Regions from separate parts of the Homo sapiens genome. Here region 1 is linked to region 2. Evidence: promoter capture Hi-C in human tissues and cell types (Jung and others, 2019). All regions are on one chromosome and are shown on one strand. The core of a region is centred on a gene start or on the middle of the fragment in contact, and the rest is flanking DNA. Distances in the headings are between cores, read along the strand shown.

Evidence for each region. The method cuts DNA at HindIII sites, captures the fragments that hold promoters and counts their contacts. A contact is called where the count stands out against the background at its distance.
Region 1: a contact is called between a fragment that was not itself captured here and the fragment with the promoter of CCT4 in region 2, in 4 of the 25 tissues and cell types used here (bladder, dorsolateral prefrontal cortex, hippocampus and 1 more).

Annotation. Positions count from the first base shown.
Region 1 is chr2:61,333,827-61,338,154 of GRCh38, forward strand. USP34 (ubiquitin specific peptidase 34) reads right to left here. Exons shown (of 80, transcript NM_014709.4): 19 at 56-145. Among named protein-coding and RNA genes, the nearest start is that of SNORA70B, 81 kb to the right of the region's middle. The HindIII fragment of the contact is 6,875 bases long and covers 1-4,328 here.
Region 2 is chr2:61,886,120-61,889,970 of GRCh38, forward strand. It overlaps CCT4 (chaperonin containing TCP1 subunit 4), which reads right to left and starts at 2,537. Exons shown (of 14, transcript NM_006430.4): 1 at 2,262-2,537. The coding sequence starts at 2,388. It also overlaps a transcript of COMMD1 not described here. RefSeq lists enhancers at 1,565-2,126, 2,127-2,686, 2,228-2,307, 3,247-3,806. The HindIII fragment of the contact is 14,932 bases long and covers 1-3,851 here.

The sequences.
Region 1 (4,328 bases), core at 243-2,742, 550 kb before region 2:
ACTATAATTAGAAAAAAATCTTTAAAATAAATACTTTTTTCTTTTATTTACTTACATTGTTATCCAGTGTGTATCGTAACTGCTCCCAAACTGCTGAAAAGTACCAAATAGTTTTGGAAGAAGACGAAGTGAAATTACTACTGATCTGAAACAGCAGAAACATTCACAAAATAATTTTAGTAATTCTTTTTATAGAAATTCAGCCATTTAAAATTTTAAATGCTAAAAGATTTAATGAATCTTGCATAGAGACATATTATTACACAAACATTAAACTTTTTTTCTCAGAAGTATAAATTCATTTTACATATTAGGGCAAGAACTGCAAGTTTAAAAAATTCCAATCCAAGATCTTTAAGGTAAAACACACTATAAATATCTGGGTAAAAAAGCAAGTGAAGAGCATTTAAAGATGTTTCTTAAATGAAACTATTTCTTCATAAGTCATTACCATTTTCTCCTAAATTCTCAATATGATTTGCATTCAAATTGAGAATCATGACCTTATGAACCACGTCACTAATGGAAGCACACCACATACCTCAAAAGTATAAGGAGCAGAAAGGGGAAAGGAAATTACTTTAAAACTTCAAGTAGATCTGAGTCTGCCTATCCTCTGAAAGGAACAGGTACAGGACAGATACTGACATAGAAATCCTGGAAGTAGGAAAGGAGGTTGGCTGCATGAGCCTTAAAAGAGGCAAAACAAATTCTAATGAAGAACTAAACTTATTTTAATCTTAGAAGCCAATACTGCTTCATGAAAAAATTTTTCACAAATTTAGGAAGTAAATTTTATTCACTTCCTGAATTTTCTTCAATAAACATGTTTTCATTTATAAAATGCAATGTGGAAGCAAGTATATGTTTGACGTTAGAGAAATAAGACGCCAGGCATTAAGTGGTTATTGACTGAGTTCAGTGAATAATGGTGTGGTTCATGAAAGACACAAACCAAAAGTAGGAATGTAGAAATAAGACTCATCTTCCTTCTACTCCTACCCTAAAGGAATGCTTTTCTCCAGAATTTATAAGTGCTGAATTATTGAGGAATAATTACATTATACATGGCTAAAGATTTTTAAGAGTTTTTCCTAAGATTATCTAAAAACTTCCAACTTTTCTCCCATTTAAAAGAATCAAATTCCAAAGAACAAAGACACACATTTTAAGTGCTATAATGACCAGACAGAGTCAAAGTCATCCCAAAGCACTAAAACATTTTATTAAAACTGATAAAATTTGTTTTTAAATGACAGAAAGTACTGCTTTTAGACTATAAATTAATAAAACACAGAATGGGAAAGATAATTTTGGCCTGGTGATAATAATTTATGTTTCAATGAAAAAGGAAACTTTACAAAATCAAATATAAAACTCGTTCCAATAAAGATTAAATTGTAGAATTTCTCCTATAATGACTATGAGATGTTATAATGACTTATCAACTTTTTTGCCCAAGTAGTTCTGACTACTGATATGCTTACAAAACTAACAAAAGCATAAAAGGGAAGTGTTATAGTCAAACTTACATTTCACAAATTCTTTCAAGACTGAAAATTTCAAATACCAAAACACATAATCCTAGGCAACAATGTGGTTAAGATAAAAAGATTCAATGGGCAACCACAAAGGCTCAATGGCCAACGCATAATGGTTCATGCCTGTAATCCCAACACTTTGGGAAGTCAAGGTGAGCAGACTGAGCCCAGGAGTTTGAGACCAGCCAGGGAAACACAGTGAGACCCGGTCTCCACAAAAAAATACAAAAAATTAGCCACCCATGATGGCACATGCCTGTAGTCCCACCTCCTCAGCAGGCTGAGGTGGGAGACTCGCTTGAGCCTGGGAGGCGGAGGTTACAGTGAGCTGAGATTGCACCACTGCACTTGGGCCTGGGTGACACAGTGAGACTGTCTCAAAGAGAAGATAAAGGTTCAATGATCCAGAGTAATAATACACTAATTTTAGACTCAAGAATAATCCTATTATACTGAATTGCACTAGTTGTTTGATTTATTCCAAGAGTTTGTGTTGTAACCAAAAGCTTATGACTATGCAACAGTGTGGTAGTCCTGTAAGAATTACTAAGGCAGCTTTTTGTTATCTTAGAACAGAGACATTCACTGTTGGTCTTCACAGCTGAAGTTACATATGGATGATTTTGCCTAATCTAGGACTCCATATTTTAAAGAAGTATATTCTACAAAATAGTCATTTAAAATTACAGCGTATATCAAAAGTTAACGTGAAATGCCATATATAATATAGTCTCTAGGGAAGCAAAACAAATTGTGTGTGTGTGTGTGTGTCCGCACAATTTTTTTTTTTTTTTTGAGACAAAGTCTCACTGTGTTGCTCAGGCTGGAGTGCAGTGGTGCGATCTTGGCTCACTGCAGCCTTGACTTCCCACCTCAGCCTCCCAAGTAGCTGTAACTACAGGTACGGGCCACCATGCCCAGCTAATTTTAAAGTTTTTCTGTAGAGATGGGGTCTTCCTATGTTTCCAAGGCTGGTCTCAAACTACTGGGCTCAATAGATGCCCCATCTCACCCTCTCAAAGTGTTGGACTTACACGCGTGAGACACTGTACCTGGTCCCTTTTGGATCTTTTTAATTTTCCTACCTATAAAAGAAGTATGTACTCATTTTAGGAAAACTGAGTAACAAATAGGCACAAAGAGAAAAAAAAAAAACCTCAAGCTGGGTGCAGTGGCTCACGCCTATAATCCCAGCACTTTGAGAGGTCAGGGCAAGCAGATCACTTGAGGTCGGGAGTTCGAGACCAGCCTGGCCAACGTGGCAAAACCCCATCTCACCTAAAAATACAAAAGTTAGCTGGGCGTGGTGGTGCACACCTACATTCCCAGCTACTTGGGAGGTTGAGGCAGGAGAATCACTTGAACCCGGGAGGCAGAGGCTGTCGTCAGCCAAGATCATGTCACTGCACTCCAGCCTGAGAAACTGACTGAGACTCCATCTCAAAAAAAAAAAAAAAAAAAAAAAGCAAAACAAAAAACCTCAATCCTCCCAAAAATAACTGCATTGTAGAGATTACACTCTGACTTATTTCTTACAATCTTTTCTTTTTAACGGTTAGGCCTGCAATTATTTGCCTAAATCATTATATAATCTTTGAAAATAGGACCCTTAATGGCTGCATGATATTTAATCTTTCATACAGTTTTCTCTTTCTATTGAAGTATAATAAACATACATACAAAAGAGGGCACAGATCTAAGCGCACAGCTCAAAATACTGAGGTAAACACATCTATGTAACCAGCAACCAAATCAAGAAACGAATCAGTATCAGCATTCCAGGAGCCTCTACTGTGTCCCATTCCAACCACTCAGGGTAGCTATTACCCAGTCTACTAAATACAAGAACTCACCTGTTTTTACATGATATAAATAAAATAATAGAGATACATAATGTTTTTGTGTCTGGCTTCTTTCTTGCAACATTGTGTTTGTGAAATTCAACCAAGTTGTTCCATGTAGTTGTTCACTGTTCATTCAATGTTACTGCTATATAGTATTTCAATGAATAGTCCACAATTATCCTTTCTACTTTTTTTTTTTGCATTTGAATAGCTATGCAAAGAATACGTAGTTATGTTATGTTATTTATTTATTTATTTAGAGACAAGGTCTCACTCTGTTGCTCAGGGCTGGAGTGCAGTGACGTGATCACGACTCACTGCAGCCTGAACCTCCCCAGGCACAAGCAATCCTCCTACCTCAGCCTCCCAAGTAGCTGGGACTACAGGCACACACCACCACATCTGGATACTTTTATTTGTATTTTTTGTAGAGGCGAGGTTTTACCACATTGCCCATGCTGGTCTCAGTCCTGGACTCATGCAATCCACCTACCTTGGCCTCCCAAAGTGCTGGGATTACAGCCATTAGCTACTGCGCCCGGCCTAGTTATTTTCAATAGGGCTGCTGTTAGCATTCTTGACTCTGCCTTTGGGTGATCACCAGGGTATATTTTGTTAGGCATATACTTAGAAGAGGAATTACTGGGTCAGAGGGTATGCAGATGCACATATGGAGAGTACAAATTATTGAACCACTTATTAAAATTTGTGTTTTCACAAAGACTTTTAAAAGAAAATTAACATTTTACAATTAACTGTTATAAAACCTATGTAAATGATGACATATCATCCAGCCATTAAAAGAATTATTTTCAAAGAATATATACCGGCCAGGCACAGTGACTCACGCCTGTAATCCCAGCACTTTGAGAAGCCAAGGCAGGAGGATCACCTGAGGTGAGGAGTTGAAGACCAGCCTGGCCAACATGGTGAAACTCCATCT
Region 2 (3,851 bases), core at 1,287-3,786:
ATCCAACAAGGCTGGGCGTGATGGCTCACACTTGTAATACCAGCACTTTGAGAGGCTGAGGCGGGCAGACCACCTAAGGTCAGGAGTTCGAGACCAGCCTGGACAACATGGCGAAACCCTGCCTCTACTAATACAAAAATGAGCCGGGTGTGGCGGTGCGCATCTGTAGTCCCAGCTAGCTACTCGGGAGGCTGAGGCAGGAGAACCGCTTGAACCCAGGAGGCAGAAGTTGCAATGAGCAGAGATCACACCACTGCACTCCAGCCTGGGGGACAGAGCAAGACAGACTCCATCTCAACAAACAAACCAAACCTAACAAACCAAACAAAAACCAAAACTCTCAAATCATAGCTTTTGGTCATCATCAGTATGTTATAAAACATCTCTGGGGCCGGGTGCGGTGGCTCACGCCTGTAATCCCAGCGCTTTGCGAAGCCAAGGCAGGCCGTCACTTGAGGCCAGGAGTTTAAGACATAACGGGTCATCTTCACAGATAACTTAGGTGGCCTTTCCTTCCCACATGCACACCCTCCTCTGTTGTTTCAGTTCTTTGTCTGCTTTTGTTTCAAAGGTTGCTAAATTTCCCACTTATTTTGTTTGTTGAATATCAACCATATTATAAACTCTCTTGGCCCCCAAATTTATCTTTTTTTTTTTTTGAGACGGAGTTTCGCTCGTCACCCTGGCTGGAGTGCAATGGCGCGACGTCAGTTCACGGCAACCTCCGCCTCCCAGGTTCAAGCTATTCCCCTGCCTCAGCCTCCCGAGTAGCTGGGACTACAGGCCTACGCCAACACACCCACCTAATTTTGTATTTTTAGTAGAGACGGGGTTTCTCCATGTTGGTCAGGCTGGTCTTGAACTCCTGACCTCATGTGATCCGCCAGCCTCAGCCTCCCAAATTGCTGGGATTACAGACGTGAGCCACCCTGCCCGACCCAAAATTTATCTTTCAACATTCTGTTCCTAATCTAATAAATGTAAGCTTCAACTATGGTCCCTAGACAATTATCCTACAAACCTTCGTTTCCAGGTGTATTATCTCCTAAACTTACAAATGACTCCTAAATCTGGCCATTCTGACCTTTCCAACTCATTAGGACAAGTTAGAAACTATTACTTTTTCTTACATCCAGCGTTACCTATCTTAGCGCCATCACATTCCCAGTTACTTGGGCTGATGACTGCAAACACATGTAAGGTGTACTTTATATACGTGGGTCTTTATATGCTTTCTCACTGAATCCTCACAGCAAGCCTACACGATGGCTAAAAAGAAATGATCCCATAGCTGGGGGAGATTAAGCCAAATACTTTCCAGGACACCAGGCCTTTAACATCTGCCCCAACCTAGCTTTCTAATCTCACCTCTTCTGTAAACATACTACTATTCTCCAACCCAAAAGAACTACTATACTCAATATACACTCGGGCAAGATCTCTAAACCTCTGTCCTGACTTTTCCTTCCAGATTTTTCTATTTCAACTCGATTTCTCTTAATCTTAACTCTAAAAAGCAAACATTTTCCTCCAATTTTATAAGTGAATCTTTGGCACAGAGGTTACAGGTCACTAAGACATGAAGTAACGGAAGCAGAGAATGAAACTCTGGTCTTCCTGATTTCCAACGTGTGCCACACACTTCCACAAAAAAAACAAATAATTGTTTCTTGATTTGCCTATGTTTCACTGCACATGCGGAGACGACATCAACGTAACTTTTCCGCAACTATTTCAAACACGACACGTAAGTCGGTTCCCACATCCATCCCAGTACAATGGGCCCCGCCCCAATTTAGACTCGGAGAGTTCACCCAATTCGTCTCAACAGTTGTGCCAAGTGAAGTTTATTTAATAGTTCTTTAAATAAGAATAACAAAGCTGAAAGATACTGTGCATTCTACCAGTTCCAATAAGCAATAAGCGACAGCCCTCAAGCGTCAGATCCCTAGTGAAGACTGCATGCAATCCTCGGCATTTTGAACTGCTTTCGGCTCCAATATGAATGATGCACAGTGCAGGATGAAAAACTAAGGGAGATTAAGATGCAAAATGGGGCAAGTCCAAAGGCCTCCATACTCCGGGTTGGCGATCATCGGCAGAAAAACAGAAATAAGGATCCCTCCACTGGGCTGCTTCTATAGGGAGGACAAGAGAGGATCACCCGAAGAAATGGGAAATGAGCCAAACCCGCTCAAGCCCACGATGAGAGCGCAGAGCACAACCCCGCGGCGCCGCGGGTCAGGCCATGAGAGTGATACCTTTGGCGGCGGAAATGTTGCTGAAGCGGATCTGGGCTGGCTTGTCGCGGTCCTGATAGGCGCCTTTCCCGCGGCCGCCGGCAGCCCCGGCAGTCGCCCCGCTCCGGGGTGCCACATTCTCGGGCATGGCAAACTCCGCTGTGTCTGGGTTGGCTCGGGAAGGACGGATGGACCCGGATTCTGGCCGGCCGCAGTGTAATAACGGTAAGCCCTCACTGCCTTCACGAACCTTCCAGAAAGCGGCGCCGGCGTCGGGAGGAGGCGGAGGCGGAGAAGGGGGCCTTCCTTGCCGCGCGGCGCTGGCGTGACGTAGGAGGCTGTCCGCTGCGCGCCGGGCGAGGAGGATGCGTGCGGTGGGCTCCGGGCTGGCGAGATTGTACGCCCGGGGCGCTGTGGGTGAAGAGCGCCGGGGGAACCTTTACGCGAGGCAGCAATGACAACGCGCGATTTTAAAGGCGAGTGGTGAGGACATCCGCATTTCCTCACTCCACCTTGCACGGCTATGAGGTCCCCTCCTTTTTTTTTTTTTTTTTTTCTTTTTTTGGATACAGTCTCACTCTGTTGCCCAGGCTGGAGTGCAGTGGCGCAAAATCTCGGCTCACTGCAGCCTCCGCCTCCCAGGTTCAAGCGATCCTCCTCAGCCTCCCGAGTAGCTGGGATTACAGGCGTCCGCCACCATGCCCAGCTAATTTTTGTATTTTTAGTAGAGACAGGGTTTCACCATGTTGGCCAGGCCGGTCTCGAACTCCCGACCTCAGGTGATCCACCCGCCTCGGGCTCCCAAAGTGTTGGGATTACAGGCGTCAGCCACGAAGCCCGGCCTTTTTTTTTTTTTTTTTTTTTTTTGACAGAGTCTCGCTCTGTCGTCCAGGCGGGAGTGCAGTGGGGCGATCTTGGCTCACTGCAGCCTCGACCTCCGGGGCCCAAGCGATCCTCCCGCCACAGCCTCCCAACTAGCCAGGACGACAGGTGCCCGCCACCATGCCTAGCGAATTTTTGTATTCGAAACATAGCGAGACTGGGTTTCGCTGTGTTGCCCAGGCTGGTCTGACCTCCCCGGCTCAAAGCGGTCCACCCTCCTCAGCGTTTCAAAGTACTGGGATTACAGGCGTGAGCCACCGCGCCCACCCGGAGGTGCCCTCCTTTAACTCCGGCTGGATCTATCCGCGAGGTGGGGTGGGCGCCGGAATAACTCTCTAAGGGATATGACTGAGTCTGTTTTTGCCCGGCCACATAGACCTGCATTTTATGCAGTTTTGTTCATTTTGAAAGGGAGTCAGAAAAGGGAGATTTGGAATGAGGCGAGGTTAGTTATCTCGTATTGGTTGATACTGGGTGGTGGAGGTTTGACAGACTGCCAAATCAGGTCTGTCTAGTTACCACCGCCCGCTTGTTCTACACTAGTGTCTCCTGCATGACGTAGCCACTGACTCTTAGGGAACGTAAACATTATAATAAAGATCATTTATTTCCGTTATCTGCTAAGCACAGTGCTAAACCTTTACACGTTTTATATCTCGTTTAGTCCTCACAATAATCCTTTACTTAAAAGGTGAGAGAACTGGAGCCCAAAGAAGGAACTGAAGCCCA